4 separate regions of the Homo sapiens genome follow, and all the other regions are linked to region 2. Evidence: promoter capture Hi-C in human tissues and cell types (Jung and others, 2019). All regions are on one chromosome and are shown on one strand. The core of a region is centred on a gene start or on the middle of the fragment in contact, and the rest is flanking DNA. Distances in the headings are between cores, read along the strand shown. Region 1 overlaps THSD4 (thrombospondin type 1 domain containing 4). Region 2 holds the start of CT62 (cancer/testis associated 62). Region 3 overlaps MYO9A (myosin IXA). Region 4 overlaps THSD4 (thrombospondin type 1 domain containing 4).

Region 1 (4,354 bases), core at 973-3,472, 570 kb before region 2:
CTGGTTTGTTTTTTTTTTTTTTTTTGAGACAGAGTTTCACTCTTGTTGCCCAGACTGGAGTGTAATGGCACGATCTCAGCTCACTGCAGCCTCCGTCTCCCGGGTTCAAGCAATTCTCCTGCCTCAGCCTTCCGAGTAACTGGGATTACAGGTGCCCACCACCACTCCTGGCTAATTTTTGTATTTTTAGTAGAGACAGGGTTTCACCATGTTGGCCAGGCTGGTCTCAAACTCCTGGCTCAGGTGATCCACTCGCCTTGGCCCCCCAAAGTGCTGGGATTACCGGTGTGAGCAATGGCGCCTGGCCAAGGTGCTGGCTTTTAAGGTTAGCTTGTGAGTTCAGCCGTTTTAGTGGTTTTTCACGGTCTCTTATGCCTGTTTTCTAAAAACAGAAAGTGCTGTCAGGAGGAAGCAATAATGCTCTGGTTATAGCTTCCTGGTCCTAACAGCAAATATCCCATAACTTCTAAAAATTATAGCATAATTTTTCATATAGAATAAAATTTAAAACAGCAAAACCTAACAACATTAAGAGGTGGACTCAATAGTCCTTAAAGAACAAGCAGTTAAAGAAGGTGGACATCTAGTGAGAAGTCTGTAGTTTAATTTTTATTCTCTAGGGGTTAATAGATGCCACCTGCCTCATGCTCAGAGTTGACTATGAAACTTTTATCAACTAAATGTTGGAAGGAAGCGTGATATCCTGCTTTGGTACCAGCCAACAGGCAGGATATGTGACTGTCCATTGCCTTGGTTACTGTTCATCTGCGTGCTGGTAGAACTCTCCTTTAAGATGGTCAACTAGTGTTGACTGAGATATTCCTAAGTCTTAACCAGTTTTCGGACCCCTGCCAGGAATTCATTTAGTGTGGCGGTCACCAAAACACAGTCTCTGAGCCAAATATGGCCTGCCACCTGCTTTTGTAAATAAAGTTTTATTGGAATCAGTCACTGCTTTTGCATAGGAGAGTTGAGTAGTTGTGACAGTGTCCATAGGGACTGCAAAGCCTAAAATATTTCCTATCTGGCTGTAAATCTTCAGTTTTCTTGCTACTGCTTCCCCCCACAGAGATTGGAACAACAGAGTGCACCATGTCCTCCATCACTACTGACTTCCCCTTCCCCCAAGAATGGGTCTAGGGACTCCTCCTCTTCCTTTGTCCTTATAACCCAAGCTTAGCAATATGGTGTTTGTGGGTGAAACGTCATGTCATTACTCTCACTATCCCATGTGTTCTGATTTCATGGTTTATATCAACTGACAGAGACTGATGAAGTGATGAAGAGGCAGTGCTCTGGCCATCTCAAAACAAAGGTGCTCCTATGTGGAGGGAACAGCTGTCCTTTTTTGTCTGGTATAAACTGTATAGCCCTGATTCAGTAGACAGAGAGAGAAACAGTTTCTTTCTCACCTCAGCCCTCAAAATCATGCAGACTACACTCTCCAAAGCAATACAATCAGGTATTAACAGCACAAATGCAACCAGTTAAGCATGTAAATCTCAACAGATGCCTCAAGTAGTTTGGGTTAATAAGTGAATCCAACTTACACATCATGGGTATAGAGTTTCAGTTTTGGAAGATGAAGAAAGTTCTATGGATGGGTGCTGTTGATGGTTGTACAATAATGTGAATGTGCTTAATGCCACTGAACTGTACATTTAAAATGGTTAAAATGGTAAATTTTATGTTATATATATTTTACCATAAAGTTTTAAAAATTTCTTATTAGGGGAAGCTGGGTTAAGAGTACATGGGAACTCTGCATTCTCTCTGCAACTCTTCTGTAAATTTAACATTACTTGAAAATAAAAAGTTTAAAAAAATGGATATATTTCCATTTACTTGGAAAAGTATATCTGAAAGTATGGTCCTTAAGATCCTCTCAGGGGATCTTTGAGATTAAACCTATTTCCATAACAACTCTAAGATGCTATTTGCCTTTTTTTCTCTTACTCATGAGTATAAAGAACATGACAAGTTTATTGATGTGGTTTCAGATTTCCCATTGCAACTAACCTTTAAGAAACTACCACTTTTCTAGTTTGGTATAGTATCAAAGGAGAAGATTCACAATGATCTGAAAAGACCACTAAACTACCTCTCTATTTTCCAACTACATATTTATGTGAAACCAGATTTTCTTCATATACTTTAGCCAAATAATCTATCACAATAGATTGGAGAAGCAGATATGAGAATCCAGCTGTCTTCTATTAGGCCAGACATTAAAAGATACAGTATTTGCAAATTGTAAAATGATGCCACTCTTCTCAAAATGTTTTTGCTCTGGGAAATAGTTACTTTAAAAAAACTGTTACTGTATTATATAGTGAGTTTATTATTGTTATTTGAAAGCAAAGTAATATAAAATTCTCAAATTTCAGTTTAAAATGTGAATACTGTAAATATTAACGAATAAATTCATATGAACAAAAGCTCTCTGGGGTCTTCAGTTTTAAAGAGGAGAAAAGGGTCCTGAGATGAAAACATTTAAGAACCACTGAGAAAACAGCAAAAACAGAAGTGTCACACATTGAATTTATGCAATTTAAATACTCTTATTTCTTTTTTTTTTAAAAAGAGGAAACCAAGGTAGAAATCATAAAACAGAAGTATGTGAATTCAAGAAAGAAAAACACACATAAGAACCTGAGAGCTGGTCTCCAAGACATTTTTGAAAATAAGCAAATTTAATAAAAAAGCAATAAAGCCCAAATAAGAGAATATATCAGATGATGCTGAAATTAAAAGTGAATTTGATATGTAATTCTATACTACATTTGAAATTCTCCATGAAAAAGATACATTAAAAAATTACCAGCTTGATTTAAGATGAACAAGAAAACATAGTAGACTCACAGCCATAGAAGAATTGTTACAAGTTAGCAGTAATTTCTTCCAAAAATATTCTAGTGCCAGATGTTTTTTATTGGTGAGTTTTTATAAAAATCTGAAGGAACAGATTATTATATAAGCTTTTCCAGAGCACATAAAAATTGGAACACTAACCTAACCTCCACCTCAGAGAGGTAGCACAAAATGAAAACAATAGGCCAATCTCACTTCGGAATACAGATTTTAAAAATCCCAAATAAGGTCCTAGCAAATTGAATTCAACAGAACATTAAAAAAACCATTCAGCAAGATGAAACAGGGTATAATCCAGGAATTCAAGGATAATATAGAAAACTTTAAAGAAAAAATAACGTAAGTAGGTGCCAAAATGTCATTTAAAACTCATCCTGGTAAAAAAAAAAAAAGATTACAAGATTAGAAATAGACTTTCTTACCCCAATGATGAGCATGTAATCATATATTCAATTAAAATATTTATTGAGCATACATCCATTTTCCTTGCTAGTAAAAATTAGGAGCATTCACATTAAAATCAGAGATAGGTTAAGGATGTCTGCTATTCAGAGTAATTACTATTGGAAAGGAGGAGGCAATATTATAATTATTTCTATATGGTATGATTATATCACTAGAAAACGATGAGAATCAACTCAAATTACTCAGAATTTATAAAAGCGCAACGAAATTACCAGATAGAGGTAAATATAAAAAAACCCATAACTTTTCTGTATATTGATAAGAATTTTAGAGATAAAAAGGAACAGATTCCATTCTTTGTCATCATCATCATACCACAGCAAAATGCAATTAAATACCTATGATGAATCTTTACAAGGAATGCAGAGAATTTATATGGAAAATAACAAAACTTCACTGGCAGATGTAAGCTATTTGAATAAACGGTAATAAATGCTATGTTCTTAGACTGAATGGTTTTGTTGCTGTTTTGAGATGGAGTCTTGCTCTGTCGTCCAGGCTAGAGTGCAGTGGTGTGATCTTGGCTCACTGCAACCTTGCCTCCTGGGTTCAAGTGATTCTCATGCCTCAACCTCCTGAGTAGCTGGGACTATGGGCACCTCCCACCATGCCCAGCTAAATTTTTGTATTTTTAGTACAGATGGGGTTTCACCTGTTGGCCAGGTTGTTCTCAAACTCCTGACCTCAAGTAGGCCGTTCGGCTCGGCCTCCCAAAGTGCTGGGATTACAGGTGTAAGCCACTGAGCCTGGCCAGACTGAACATTTTAACCATGTCTACTCCTCCCAAATGAATTTATAGATCTAATACACTCTGGGCATGAATCAGGTTGGAATTCAAGGATCACATTCCTTAAGACATTGACAACCTAACTCAAATAGCAGCCTGCTCTTCCAGCCAGCACTCATTCTCCTCTTCCCCTGTTTTATTTTTTATAGCATGTCTCATCATCTGAAATTACCTTTTTGTTCTTTCGTCTCCAGTTTCCCCGGTAGAATTTTGTAAATGCCATCAGGGCTG
Region 2 (4,539 bases), core at 276-2,775:
AAGTCCCAGGACGCCCATCTGCTTGCTTCCTCACATTAATTTCAGGGCTAGGATTTTGTTTTCTAAAGGAATTCAACTATGATGCCAACAAAAATCTATAGGAATTGAAGAGTTCCGTATTTTAAGTCACATTTTTAAAATGTTTGCTTCTTTGTATATTGAGACCCAGTAAGACCCTAGTAAGCCCAGTTACTCCATCACCTCCAACAATATTAATCAAGTAGAAGACACGCGGATTTTAAAAGCTGTGTGATCCTTGAAAAATCTTCAGACTGTCAGGGGTCCTGGGTGCCTCCAACTGTGAAAGGAGGGTTGGACAAGGCGATTCCTTAGATCTCTCTCGGGTATCTATTTCTCTAATTCCAAATTCCAACAGGCATCCAATGATTGCTACCCACGTCCAAGCTTTAGACTCATAGCCCGAAAAGGGCGAAGCGCAGCGTGGTAGAGATCGCAAAGGAGACAGGAAGAGAAGCAAGCATGCACTTTTAGTAAGACGGCAAAGGAGGCTGGGAGGTACGGTGCTGGGTGCGGACTGCTTAAAAAACTTACTAGACCACAAATTCCAGATACTTAGGTGGGCCCGAGAACGCCCTAAAATCCCCTTCCCAAGTGAGGGCTGATGTTATTTCAAATAAAAAGAAAACTTAACTTCCAGATCTGTAGAGCTCCAAGGTGAGCTCGCTGTGCAAAAGCTACTTCTGTAAGTGCGCCAAGGGGCCGCAGGTACTTAGGCTGCACTTGAGGAAGTGTCCAGAGTTGGCGGAAACAACCCATCCACTCGGGCTCCAGGCGCTCGCTGGGTTGCAGCAACTAAACTGAGACAGACAGACACACAGATCCGAGGCCCCAGGCCAGGACTCAAGGAGCGCTGACCGAGACTTGCCCGGCTCTCGGGCCCCAGGCGGGAGGGAGGCGAGGCTGAGGTGGGGGGCGCACGGGCTGGGTGTGCACTCGCCGGTCCCCTCCGACCCGACCCGGGGAGCACGGGGCCCCGACCCGGGGACGACTGAGGTGGATTGTCCCTAGAGTTTAAGACTGTCCCTAGAGTCGAGGGTGGAGGGATGAGCGCCGGCGCCAGCACAGAGCAAGACTCCCAGCAAGGAAGAGAACCAGAGAAGGAGGCGCAGCCGTCCGCACGGACCAGGCGCGCGCTGGCTCCCCGAGCCCGGAGCGGCGCAGCCCGCGGCGCCCCGGACACACCCACTGGGTAGCCCGCGCCAGCCCGCCCCGCCGGCCAGAGAGCGGGAGCCGGAGCCTGGGCAGCGGAAGCCGGGTCGGGGCCGCGCGGGCGGCGCGCAGGGGACGCGGGGCGCGCGGCTCTGCTCACCTGGCGGTCCGCGTCCCGGAGCGACCGGCGGCCGCCTCGCCTCGCCTCGCCCCCGCGTGGTTCCCGGCGCCGGGCAGCCCCGAGCGCCGCCGCATGGACGGCCGCCACCGCCGCCCAGCCGCCCCGCGCCCGCCCTGCACGGGCTCCCGCTGTGCCCCGATTCCGCGTCGGGCTGCGCGGGCGGCCAGCGGTTCAGGCGCGCGCGGAGAGCTCTGGCTCAGAGTTTGCGATCCGAGAGCGGGATCCGCGCTCCCTCGGTCCTTCCTCCCTCCCCTCTTGCGGCCTCCCGCTGTCATCTGGAGCCGCTCCTGCCGCCCCCTGGCGGCGACCGCGGGAAGGGCCGGCCCCCATCCGCACCCCTGACCCCGGAGGTCAACAACGGGATGGTCCCTGGGTCCCAGGGGAAGAGACATCACCCAGTAGGAGGGAGTACGGTCTAGACAGAGGCCACGAGGGCGGGAGGGGGCGAGAGTGGAGAGTGGCCCAGCTGGCCAGGGTCGTCTAAGTGAGAGGAAAAGGGAGAGGGCGGTTGAGACCAGGCCCTGAATTCCGCGTTCATCTTATCCTGAGGTCTGTGGGGACCTGTTGAAGGACTGGGGCAGGGGACGGACGCGGGCATCCTTCCATTTGGAACAGCCATTCCGGCAGCATCAGGATGGGGCGGAGGCAAAGCGGGGAGTGGGCGAGGCAAGTGGTGCTGTAAACCTGTGCGAGAAGGGGGCGGTGACTCTAAGGGCAGGAAGGAGCCCTGGTCACACACACACTCCCACGCAAGGTAGGACGCGCTGGGCTCCTTCTGAGGCCAAGGGGAAAGGACAAGAGCCCTCCAAATTCCAACGGGGGTTAGACAGCATGGGGAGGAGACACACACACCCTGACGGCCAGAGCCGTTCGGGATTCTTTCTTGTCTTATTCAGAGTAATATTTTGTTGGGGAAAAAAAAGCCTGCTGCAAAAAAATAATAATTCTTCTCATTAGTAATGATAAAAATCAAACTTTGATCCCTTCATTTTACGAATTGGGAAATTATTGCCCCCAAAAGGGCATGACCAAAGTGACGCGTTTAGTTAATGGAGGGAAAATTGCTAGGGCCCCGTTTCTTGAGTCCTAATTCAGAGCCAAATTCTTTACATTCGAGCCAAGGTGTTCAGAGCTGGGAAGGCAGGAAATAGAGTGACTGTGAGGAACTGTCTCTTCTTTCCCCAGAGCAGGGAGGGGGTGACAAATATTTGAAGAGGCTGTCCAGATACAGGCGTTTCCCTAAATTTCAGTCAGCCTGTTTGTTTATCGCTGCCTCTAAAGCTTGCCTGCAGGGGTTGTTTTGAAAGTGCAGGTATACCGAGAGGACAATGAAGGAGGTGGCAGAATGCAAGCTCCCTGCCCCAGAGCCAGGCAGCACCAGGGCTGGGTGCAGAGCGCTTCGTGGGAGCAGAAGGGAGCTCCCAGGGAAGATTGTCCTCCAGAAAAAAAAAAAAATTAACAAAAGGGAAAGAGGCTACTCAAGAGATTAGGCCAAAGAAAGAAACACCATTTTGAGCACCGACTACTGGCCCGGAGCCTGGCAGAGCCAGTTCTGATTGATTCAAGAGCTGGTTCCAATGGGATGAAATAATTCCACACTTGATCAAACAGATTTTGATGGGAGGCACCTGGTGTAAATGGGATTAGATTAATTCTGAGTGTCACGAGTCTCATGGGTCCAAATTAAGTCGATCTAACAGCTCTAGTAAATACTGGCCAGTTTAAACCATTTAGAACTGATTTAAAAAAAAAAACCTGCGCAACTTTAGAATGTACTTAATGTCACTGAATTATACACTTAAAAATGGTTAAAATGGAAATTTTTATGTTATGTACATTTTACCATAATTTTAAAAAAGCAAAACTAATAAGATTTGTTCAAACAAGATTGATTTATTCATTCATTCGAGACAGGTATTCAGTGCCGAGTGTGGCCTTGGTGCTAGGATTCAAAGAGGAAAGGAAGAAAACTTTCCATTCTAAAAGAAACTCCACGTGAGGCGAAGAAGATGAAATATAGTCAGAAAACCATACCAGTAGGTGGTAGGTAAATGCAGAAGTATTTAAGAGCTCATACAGGAGTACCTGCCTCAGGACAGGGAATCTGAGATGCTCTGCAGAGCTGGATCTTAAAGAACGGAGTGAGTTCATCACATAATGTCTGGGGCGAACAGGGCTCAGGAGCAAAGGATGTGGTTTTGTTTGTTATTTTTTAATTTTGAAATAATTTTAGACAAGTTTCACAAATAGTACAAAGAATCCCCTTATATCCCCCACCCTCTTCCTCTAATGTTAACATCCGACATAACCAAAGTATGATTATTAGTGAGCAAACTTGATTCGACAGACCTAGGCTGGCTCCTTAGAAGTGATTCCAGTCCATTTTCAACCTTGGTCAAATTGTTTTGACCATATTTTGCTTATATGTCACAAGAAAGTCTCTTTCTTTAAAGTCAAGATAATACTTGTTTTATTTGTTTATTTATTTTGAGAGAGTGTCTTGCTCTGTCACCCAGGCTGGGGTGCAGTGGCATGATTGCAGCTCACTGCAGGCTCCACCTCCTGGGCTCAAGCAATCCTCTCACTGCGGCCTCCCAGGTAGCTGAGACTACAGGCGTGCGCCACCACATTTGACTAATTTTTTTTTCATTTTTTATTTTTAGTAGAAAGGAGGTATTGCTGTGTTGCCCAGGCTGGTCTCAAACTCCTGAGCTCAAGTGATCCTCCGTTCTTGGCCTCCCAAAGTGCTGAGATTACAGGCGTGAGCCACAGAGACCAGCCTATACTCATTTTAAACAAAGAGATATTTACATTATGTGTAAGCATCAGTGAATATTAAGTATGCTAAGACAGCAAGTTTTAATCTTTCAGTCCTGTTATATTTCTGCTTTTATCCAAATGTGTCTGTCACGTATGAATCAGAAGAGCAGAATGTGGTCCTTGCATATAAAATAGCTTACTGACCCTCACCGAAAGAGAGAGCCAAGAATATGTGCTTCAGATCACAGTCAAAGGCTAGCCTGTGCTTACCTAGGCTGGGGGCCTGCCTGGCATGTCAGTGTCAGCTATACACAGCATCTTGGAGGGTGGGTCACCCCTTTGCATATCTGATGTGGTGAGCTACTCACTACCTCATAAAATAGCCACATTGTTCTTAGAGGCTCTTTGTTAGAAATTCCCTTTTAATT
Region 3 (4,797 bases), core at 222-2,721, 710 kb before region 2:
TCAAGAATGGGCATTATTCACAAATCCATGAAGGAAGGTTATTAGCCAAAGATCCATATGACCATGGGAACAGCAACTAGATGGTCATAGTAAGGCTATAGCCCTAGAGGGTGCTAGGATACTAGATAGGGAAATTGGTTGCAATTTAGGAGAGAGACAAATGAGAAGCTCTTTTACCTCCATTCATCACTGTTGCAGGGATTGGGTGACAGTATGCCTTGGGGATAATATGAACGTGCCATGGTTCTCCCTACAGGTGCTGTGTAATAGTTCTGGTCGACATTGATGACTCTTAGGAAGTCTTAATGGGATCTTTATTCCTGAGTTCCAGGATCCCAGGTCTTGAGTTTGGTTTATAAGGGGATATAAGACTGTTAAAATACTTTCTTGGTCTCTCATGATTGATTCTGGAATATAGGCCAGCTAAAAAAGCAGCTGGGGCTCAGCTGTAAAAAACATGATAAGGCAAAGATGATGTACATTGACCAGGGGCTATTTGCTAGAAGAGTGATCTGAAAAGAAGACCCAGTTTGGCTTTGATGCAGATGATATTGGCAGTCTTGAAGGATTAATAGGAATTTTCAAGGAAGGGGAGAGTCTCTAGAAAAAGAAAGAAGAACGAGCAGAGTCTCAGAATGCACATGGCCTCAGACAATTGTAATGCTGGTGATACTGTTCTTGAAATGATTGTTCATGGATCTCAAGCCAGGTAAAGGGGAAGTAAAGGTAAGGGGCTCTGTTAGGGAAGAGACTTGATTAGAAGGTGAGTAAGAATTGGAAGGATAAGGAGGTTGTGAACAGGGTGGAGTGTTGGATTCAGAGTAATGACAAGCTCCAGGATCTGTGCATTGGAGAAAGTAGCTTAGATAAAGTAGAGGAGAATATTGTTAGAAGTTGCAGACATAAAGGAACTTCAGTGTTAGAATATTCAGATGAGTTTTTACAAAGATATTAATTGAATAGATCAGGTGATGTCAGGCATTAGTGAAAAAGCAAGATTAGGATCTGAGTACCAAAGACCTCACAGAATGTGGGGCATTACTGAGAGGTAGCTGGGTGACCGTGATGAAGAAGGGAGACTAGAGAATACGACAACTGAAGATGGCATAAGCTTCAAAGGACAGAAAAGATCAATCAGTGTTTTTCTTCGTCTAGAGGTCTCTGTGGTGAAGATAGAGGGTATCGTCTATAGCCAGTTAGTAAGCTTCATGGAAAATAGTTTAAGAGCTGGAAGGAATCTTAGAGGTTATCTAGTTTAATCTCTTTGTTTTGTGGTAGGAAGCTGAGGTCCAGAAGAGAAAGGTACTTTCCTGATGCATTATGGATATTATGAACAAGGTTAGAGCCCTGATCTCCTGCTTATCAGTCCAGAGTTCATTTTACTGAAAGATCTCACCACTACATCTTTCTTCACCCTACCCTTACCCCTATTATTGGTCCTAGATTGGCTATCTGTCATTTTGTCCTTTAGTCCATATAGTTTTAGCCTTCACCATATTTGGCATACAGGTCCTCATCACCACCTGGATGGGGACAGTAAAAATGGACTCTCTTTGCTTCTTAGATTCCTGACTTCCATGGAGGATCTTTTTTTCTGTTATCTTCCTTCCACTTCCTATCAAATGCTAATGGTTTCTTGATTGTGTCTTACAGGGAGGAGCTAACATTTGAGATGCTTGTACTGGAACCCCGTGCCTCTGATGATGAAACCCTTGAGTCTGAGGCCTCCATTGGGACTGCTGATAGCTCAGAGAATTTGAATATGGAGTCTGAATATGCTATCTCTGAGAAATCAGGTAAGTGAACATGGTAGACCAAAGACTCCAGATTTGTTTTGCAAAGGAGGAATAAAGATTCCAAAACTAAGACAAAGTCTTTTAAGAATTTACTGACTGTACATCAGCAATAACAAAGTCTTGAGGAATTTTGTCCTTTTATCCATATAATTTTAGCCTTCATCGTTTGGCATACAGGTAGTGACCTGGATGGGGATAAGAAATATAAGGGGATAAGAAATATAATTGTCTTTGCTACTTAGATTCCTGACTTCCACGGAAGGTCTTTTTTTTCCTGTTGTCTTTGTAAAGCTTCCATATACATTGTTTATCAAACCAACTCTTCAACGTGATTGAGTTTTTTGTTTTTTGTTTTGTTTTGTTTTGTTTTTTGGTAATTTAATGTTTTATCCTGTACTTACCACAGAGAAAAGCCAATAATCACAATATATGTTGTCTTACTGACCCATAACCCATTTTCTGAGGGTGGCAGGCATTGTGCCCCCACTGTGAGGTGGGACTATATACATATACAAAGGAGGTGTTTAACTGGGTGGCATGTCTCAGGGAGATGTAGGACTTACCTGCATATCCTGGCAGTTTTTGAAATGATAGTGACTGTTCTAGGCCTCCGCTGATGGCATAGTCAAACACCAGATTTCCTTGGAGATGATTCGGAAATGCTACATAGAGAAATGGATGGTGAGCTCTTACTGTGACTGTGCCCATAGTAAGTCATCCTGGACCCTCTGAATCTTATCCCACCCAATTTCATGTGTGAACAGTGGCATCTATTCATTATATGATGATTTGCTTTAGAGGGCACTGTCATTTACATCTTTGGTCTCTTTTTTGCATTAGAAAGAAGCTTAGCCCTTAGCTCCCTGAAGACAGCTGGCAAGTCTGAACCTTCCAGCAAGTTGCGAAAGCAACTTAAAAAGCAGCAAGACTCTTTAGATGTCGTGGACTCTTCGGTCTCCTCTTTATGTCTGTCTAACACGGCATCATCTCATGGGACCAGAAAACTATTTCAGATTTATTCCAAATCTCCATTCTACCGAGCTGCCTCAGGTAATGAGGCCCTGGGAATGGAAGGACCATTGGGCCAGACCAAATTCCTGGAAGACAAGCCTCAGTTCATCAGCAGAGGAACCTTCAACCCGGAAAAGGGCAAACAAAAATTAAAGAATGTGAAAAACTCACCTCAGAAAACCAAAGAGACCCCAGAGGGGACAGTCATGTCTGGCCGCAGAAAAACTGTGGACCCAGACTGCACCTCCAACCAACAGCTAGCACTCTTTGGAAATAATGAATTTATGGTCTGAACCGGCAGATGTGTGTCCCTCCGTGGCTACAGAGTGGTAAACAAATCTCACCTTTGGGGCTGCGTTTCATCACCTCGTCCACAATAGTCAATCCTAATTGTGGTCCTGCCTCTTTTCTAAGCATATGGCTAAGACTGTATGTGCTGAATTCCTGGGCCTCCTGCAGAAGCAGAAAGCCTGCTGGGGATGGTGCCAGCTGTGCCTTGGCTGTTGTATTTGAATTGAGATTTTTACTATACAAAGCCACCTAGGGCCTGGGGATTTGGGTCAGTTGTAGTTGCCTCTCCCCCACCCTCTTTTCCCTTCCCAAAGGTGGGTGTTGAACTAGGGGGGATATTGCTGTCCTGAGGGACCCTCTCATTTCTGACATTTGAAGAAAACGTATAAATCTTTCTTAACCGTGAAAGCAAAAGCCTTTGGGTTTATTTTGGGATAGTTAGGAGCTAGGGTAGAATATAATTTTTTTCCAAAAACTTACTTACAAACAAAAAGCCTAATCCCTCTATTTTAAGATTTCTGAAAAAACACTCCATGTTATATTCTGGGGAAAGCAAAAACAAAAAAAAAAAACAAAAAAAAAAAAACAAAAAAAAACCGTGATTGTTTCCATTAAGCCATCAGAGCGTGTCTCAGATATCTTGTTATACAGTGAAGAAGAGAATACCTATTTTTTTTGATGATGTTTGATGTCATAGTAATCAGTGCTGGTTTAACTCCTGTTTAGTTCCTGCCAAATACATTGCATGGGCTGAAGTGTCAGTAGCCATACTGTTCTCATGTTTCTTGGTCCTAGGATCAGATTCTTCTACATTATTTTTTAGTTTCCCAGAGACATGGTGATCCCTAAACTTATGAAGGTTTCATCCTAAGCCATTCAGGCTTTTCTCTTTGTATAGATTAAACCGAAAACCGCATATGAGCCTGTTCATCTGCTGGTGGATTCCCACCACAGACTCAGACTCAAACAAACAAACAAATAATGTGACCGTTTAGTTAGTTTCCAAAAACATTCACATACAATATTGCATGAATAAGTAAGTAAGTGTTACAGAAAGCTGCCAAAAAATAAAAAGGTTTTTAATATGACCTATCTAACTAACTAACTTTTATCTTCCTTTTCTCAGACTATCAGTATTAAATAGATGGAAAAAAATCAAGGACTACTTGAAGCTATTTTTGTTAATATTCTGGTTACTGAAGTTTATTGTAAATATGTATGTATAGTAGGCATATTTCTTTTTAACCTTGTGCTTCCCTCCTTCCCATGGAATTTCTTCCCACAGATGAGGGGCCACTGGACAGGGGGATGAGAGCCATTCGTCCCTGGGTTGAGGGAATTAGTAAGACATCATTTTCACCACTGGGTGGTCTTCATACACATGAGTTATAATAGCATTTTAAGTATCTTAGCATTTGTGGGATTAGAAATCTGTTTTTGCTATTTATAATATATAAAAAATGAAACATGATAGCCTTTCTTGAGATAAGTATGTGAAATGTTTATTTTTAAAGTTACTAAATGCATCTTGTCTTGCTACTACATGCACTGCTCTGAAAAAGAGCCTTTACCATCTATAACCTGTATTTTGGGTATTCTTCCTTTTCATACTTCTTTGAAGTTGTGGAAATATTAAGTCTTTTGTTAAGGCAGAGTCTCTCTCTCCTGTTACACAACACTGAACCTCACGCCACTGCCT
Region 4 (4,256 bases), core at 1,757-4,256, 630 kb before region 2:
CAGCTGAAGAAGAATGAAGCAGCCCACAGGAAATCCTTCCCACTGTGCCAACCTCATCTAGGTCATAGCTTCAAATATATTACTGCAGCGGTTACTCAGCAATGTTACAGTTGAAAAAACTGAAGCTCGGTGAATCAGTAGCTGGCTCAGGGTCAAATACGAAATAAGTGATGGTCATGGAGATGATACCAAAGCCAATGTGCGTTTCTTAAACCCAATAGTACTCCCTTCCCACTCATCTACTCTAAAATAAGCATGAACATTTAGAATTCATGATCTATTCTGAGGGTAGATAAGGCAAAAATTATTTACTTACACCATAGCACCCAACTTGCATGATTTAGAACATCTTTTCCAAAACGAACGAAAGAGTTCCCTGAATAGAATAAAGTGCTCATTCTTTGCTCTATTTATAATTTTAAGCCAAGCTAGATTCGGCAAGAACTTATGTTGAAATGCAAAGCAAAATTACTTTAAGGGGAAATCTGCAAGTCATTATTGGAGAGGAAATAGGTAGAGTGGAAATCTTTGGAAAATTTACATGTAGCTTTTTACTGTTCTAAATAAATGTGGGAGACACACAGAGGAATGAACCACTGCAGCTATTTTCCCCACAGAGTTGTTTTTTCTCTGTACGTATTGTGCTCTGTGCCCCCTGCCTTTTCAGAGAGTGGCAAATGTAGAGACATGGAATTTACAAACTAAAGAATCATGGCAACAAAATGACTGTAAAAGCGCTCTCAGTTGCTGCTTGGAAGACTACACCGAAATAATCTTTCTGGAGAACAATTAGCTAAAATGTATTAAGAGTTCAAAAAGCATTCATAATATTTTCCCATAATTTAACATGATTCCACGCCCCCACTATTTTACAGAGATAAGAAGAGGTGCATATAAAGATTTATGCACAAGAACACTTACTGAAGTCTTTTAAAATATTCTGTTTTAAACAGTAAAACATCACCCGTGTATGGAGGCTTATAACTGTAATCCCAGCTACTCAGGAGGCTGAGGAGGGAGGATCACTAGAGCCCAGGAGGTCAAGGCTTCAGTGAGCCATGATTGTGCCACTGCAGTCCAGCCTGGGCAACAGAGCAAGACCTGGTCTCAAAAATAAAAATAAAAATAAAAATAAAAATAAAAACTAGAAAATCCCAAACATTTAGAAATAGGAGATTGTTTCAGTTATATAGTTCTATAGCTTATTATAATAAAAATCATGTTTTAAAGATTTTATGCTTATAATAATTAAGTGAAAAGAGGTGACCAAATTATACATACATTATGATATAAAGATACATTTATATCTTTAAAATACGTATGAGGAAAAAAAGCTATGTAGGTAAAGTATGTATGAGAAGAAAAAACTTGAAGTATAGCTTAATCTCAAATTTTCTTTTGGTGAAGAGGTTTGGAGCATACTTTTCCAAATTTCTCATATTCTTAAAACAATACTGTGTTACTTTTTAACCAGAAAAAAGCCAACATTTTTAAGAAAAAGAATCATTCCAATATAAAAATGAAAGTCCAGCATCATTCTTTTCATCCATTTGCTGATACAGGAAATCCATCAAGTTTACTGAGAACACGAATGAGTTCAGAAACTGAAGCACAAAAGGATTAGTTGAGGAAACTAGATATTTTTAGCCTGGAGAAAGTGGAAGGGGTTCCCCAATGGCTGTAGGGCTGTCCTTTTCTAAAGGACAGTGGGACTTAGTAAGAAACACTTTGGTTAACTGTAAAAGGAGACCTCTTGACACCTTGAGCTGTACAAGAAATAGATGTAATTGTCTGGACACAGGGTGAATTTCTGATAAAGGGTTTGGGCAAGAGCTGTGACCTATGTCAGGGGCACTGCAGAGGATTCCTCATGCTGGCAAGGAGGCTGAGCTCACAAACACCTTCCCCCACTGTTTCCGCAGTACCATGCGCTAATGTTTGGGATGGGAGGCTTGGAAAATAGGGATACACCGAAGAACTAGGATGAGCTCTCCTGGACTCAGCTTTAGGGCAGAAGCTTGAGTCAGTGGCCAGATCAGCACTTACTCTCCATCTGTTTCTCTTTGGTTAGAGCCTCCCAGATGGCCAAATTAGTGTCTGCTCCTGGGACTGGGGGCACAGTCAGATGCTCATCTTGGAAGCTCAGTATTTGCACCAAGGGCTGTCCATCTGGGGCCATCGTGGGCCTAAGGGGCAGGGGCCATATGCCATGAGGTGTGGGGAACACACAAGAAGATGAGCCGCTAGGTAAGAATCTCCAGGACCATCTCTGGAGGTGGAGTGAAGGCTGCATTTGCAGGTTTGTCCTTCCTCTCTTTCTGGATAACACTCCCTGTGGAAGTGGATTGTTATGGTGATAGAGGGACAAAATGAAGGGGCATCTTACACCGCAGAGGGAGAGAAAACCTATGTGAACACCTCTAGGGGTGATATTCAAAATACTCAATAACAGGTGCATGGTGGCCATTGACCGGTCAGAATGGACACTGACCAGTTGGAGTCAGCCAATGTGGCCGTATGGGGCATGTCTGCTGATATCCCCAAACTGCGTGAAAGGGTCCTTCTTTGAGTCTGAGATACTATGGTTGTTGTTCTCATGATGCTGGGAGTGGGGACGGGGTGGGGGCTCATGGGCTGCATCGTGTCTCCTAAGATCCAAGAACATGGCTGGGCTCCTCTGTCTTTTTTATGGCCTTGTTATTCAGAGTGTGGTCCTTGGACCAGTGGCCTCAGAGACCCTGGGAACCTATTAGAAATGTAGGCTGTGGCCAGGCACAGTGGCTCATGCCTACAATTCCAGGGCTTCGGGAGGCCGAGGTGGCAGATCACTTGAGCCCAGGAGTTTGAGACCAGCTTGGGCAACATGGTGAAACCACAAACAAATACAAAAAATTAGCCGGGGTGGTGGCGCGCACCTATAGTCCCACCTACGTTGGCGGGAGGGGGGCAGGGGGTGCTGAGGCAGGAGGATTGCTTGATCCCAGCAGGTCGAGGCTGCAGTGAGCTGAGATTGCACCACTGCACTCCAGCCCGGGCAATAGAATGAGACCCGGTCTCAAAATAAATAAATAAATAAATAAATAAATAAATAAATAAAAATTTAAAAATATAAAAATATTAAAAAAAAGAAAGAAAATAAATGTAGAATCCCTGGCTCCTCCCCACACCTGCTGCCTCAGACCTACACTTTAATGCGGTTCACAGGTAACGTGTACGCACGGGATTCTAGCAAGGGAAGTGGGGCAGAACTAGTGTATCCGAGAGGTAGGCCGCTAACCAAGGTCAGAGATAGCCAATCATGTCCTCATCCCAGGTAAACTCCCTAGATCTCCTAGAGAATCCAGAATCTGGACTTGGTGCCTCTCACAGCTGTGCAGCTGCCCTGGGCAAACCCTCTGACTGGCCATCCCATGCCCGCCAATGCGCCGATCCCACCAGGAAAGGAAGCACAATTCCTTATCTCCTTCCTCTTTTCTTCTCCCTGTCCCAAGGTATGTTCTACAATTTGTTTAGTGTCTTTTCTCAAACTTCATTTTTGATTGTGGTAGAATACACATAGCATGAAATTGACCATCGTAACCACTTTTAAGCCCACACCTCCAGGGCATTAGGTGCATTCATGCTGTTGTGTAACCAACATCACTCCATCTGCAGAAACCCCTTTTCATATAAATCCTCCTTTTGCCTTTGATGGATGAATTTAATATATGACTGTTTTCCCTTATATCCAGGTAACTGGTGGGCTAATGGTTGACTATATATGCCTTTGAGTTATTCTTTGACACCTGAGACTTCCCATGGGAGGCCAGGCTACTGGGGAGGGAACGGGGTGTGGGATGTTTTGAGTTGGCAAAAAGCAGTAGAGGGGCCTGCCATTGCTGAGTGTCTATGAGACACCAGGCACTTACAAGACATATGAACGATGGGATGTAATGATTCACTTCACCTAGTATTATGGAGTGACCACATGGAGTGCTAAGGAGAATTCAATCAAGTTTTGCATACACCCTCCTCACCTTTGGAGACCCTCAGTCCTCACATAAGGATAGAAAGCCTACGATAATTCCTCTCTGGGCCTTTTTTTTCCCCCCAGAGCCAGAAATCAGTCTTGGGATTCTGAGCTAGTGACTCATCTTTGTGTGGTTTTGGAGGCACCTGGCAGACCTCGGTCCCCGGCGCTCTGCCCGCCATCACACTCACCCTTTCGCTCCACTCGGTGAGGAACCAGCTCTTGGCACAGGGTCCCATGTCGCAGT

The links. Contacts are between HindIII fragments. The study calls those that stand out against the background at their distance.
Region 1: a fragment that was not itself captured here is called in contact with the fragment with the promoter of CT62 in region 2 in 2 of the 25 tissues and cell types used here (adrenal gland and dorsolateral prefrontal cortex).
Region 3: a contact is called between a fragment that was not itself captured here and the fragment with the promoter of CT62 in region 2, in 5 of the 25 tissues and cell types used here (H1 embryonic stem cells, IMR-90 fibroblasts, dorsolateral prefrontal cortex and 2 more).
Region 4: a contact is called between a fragment that was not itself captured here and the fragment with the promoter of CT62 in region 2, in 1 of the 25 tissues and cell types used here (mesendoderm cells).

What each region holds. Positions count from the first base shown.
Region 1 is chr15:71,683,427-71,687,780 of GRCh38, reverse strand. All of the region lies in intron 8 of THSD4 (thrombospondin type 1 domain containing 4), which reads right to left. Among named protein-coding and RNA genes, the nearest start is that of THSD4-AS2, 5.9 kb to the left of the region's middle. The HindIII fragment of the contact is 4,039 bases long and covers 203-4,241 here.
Region 2 is chr15:71,112,490-71,117,028 of GRCh38, reverse strand. It overlaps CT62 (cancer/testis associated 62), which reads left to right and starts at 1,525. Exons shown (of 4, transcript NR_168260.1): 1 at 1,525-2,105; 2 at 3,266-3,398. It overlaps THSD4 (thrombospondin type 1 domain containing 4), which reads right to left and starts at 1,558. Exons shown (of 18, transcript NM_024817.3): 1 at 1,331-1,558. RefSeq lists silencers at 1,165-1,254, 1,405-1,544, 1,575-1,634, 1,481-1,658, 1,695-1,744. The HindIII fragment of the contact is 8,632 bases long and covers 1-4,539 here.
Region 3 is chr15:71,824,883-71,829,679 of GRCh38, reverse strand. MYO9A (myosin IXA) reads left to right here. Exons shown (of 42, transcript NM_006901.4): 41 at 1,654-1,796; 42 at 2,637-4,797. The coding sequence ends at 3,100. Among named protein-coding and RNA genes, the nearest start is that of NR2E3, 17 kb to the right of the region's middle. The HindIII fragment of the contact is 4,731 bases long and covers 1-3,836 here.
Region 4 is chr15:71,748,539-71,752,794 of GRCh38, reverse strand. It overlaps THSD4 (thrombospondin type 1 domain containing 4), which reads right to left. Exons shown (of 18, transcript NM_024817.3): 14 at 4,201-4,256. Among named protein-coding and RNA genes, the nearest start is that of THSD4-AS2, 59 kb to the right of the region's middle. The HindIII fragment of the contact is 4,117 bases long and covers 948-4,256 here.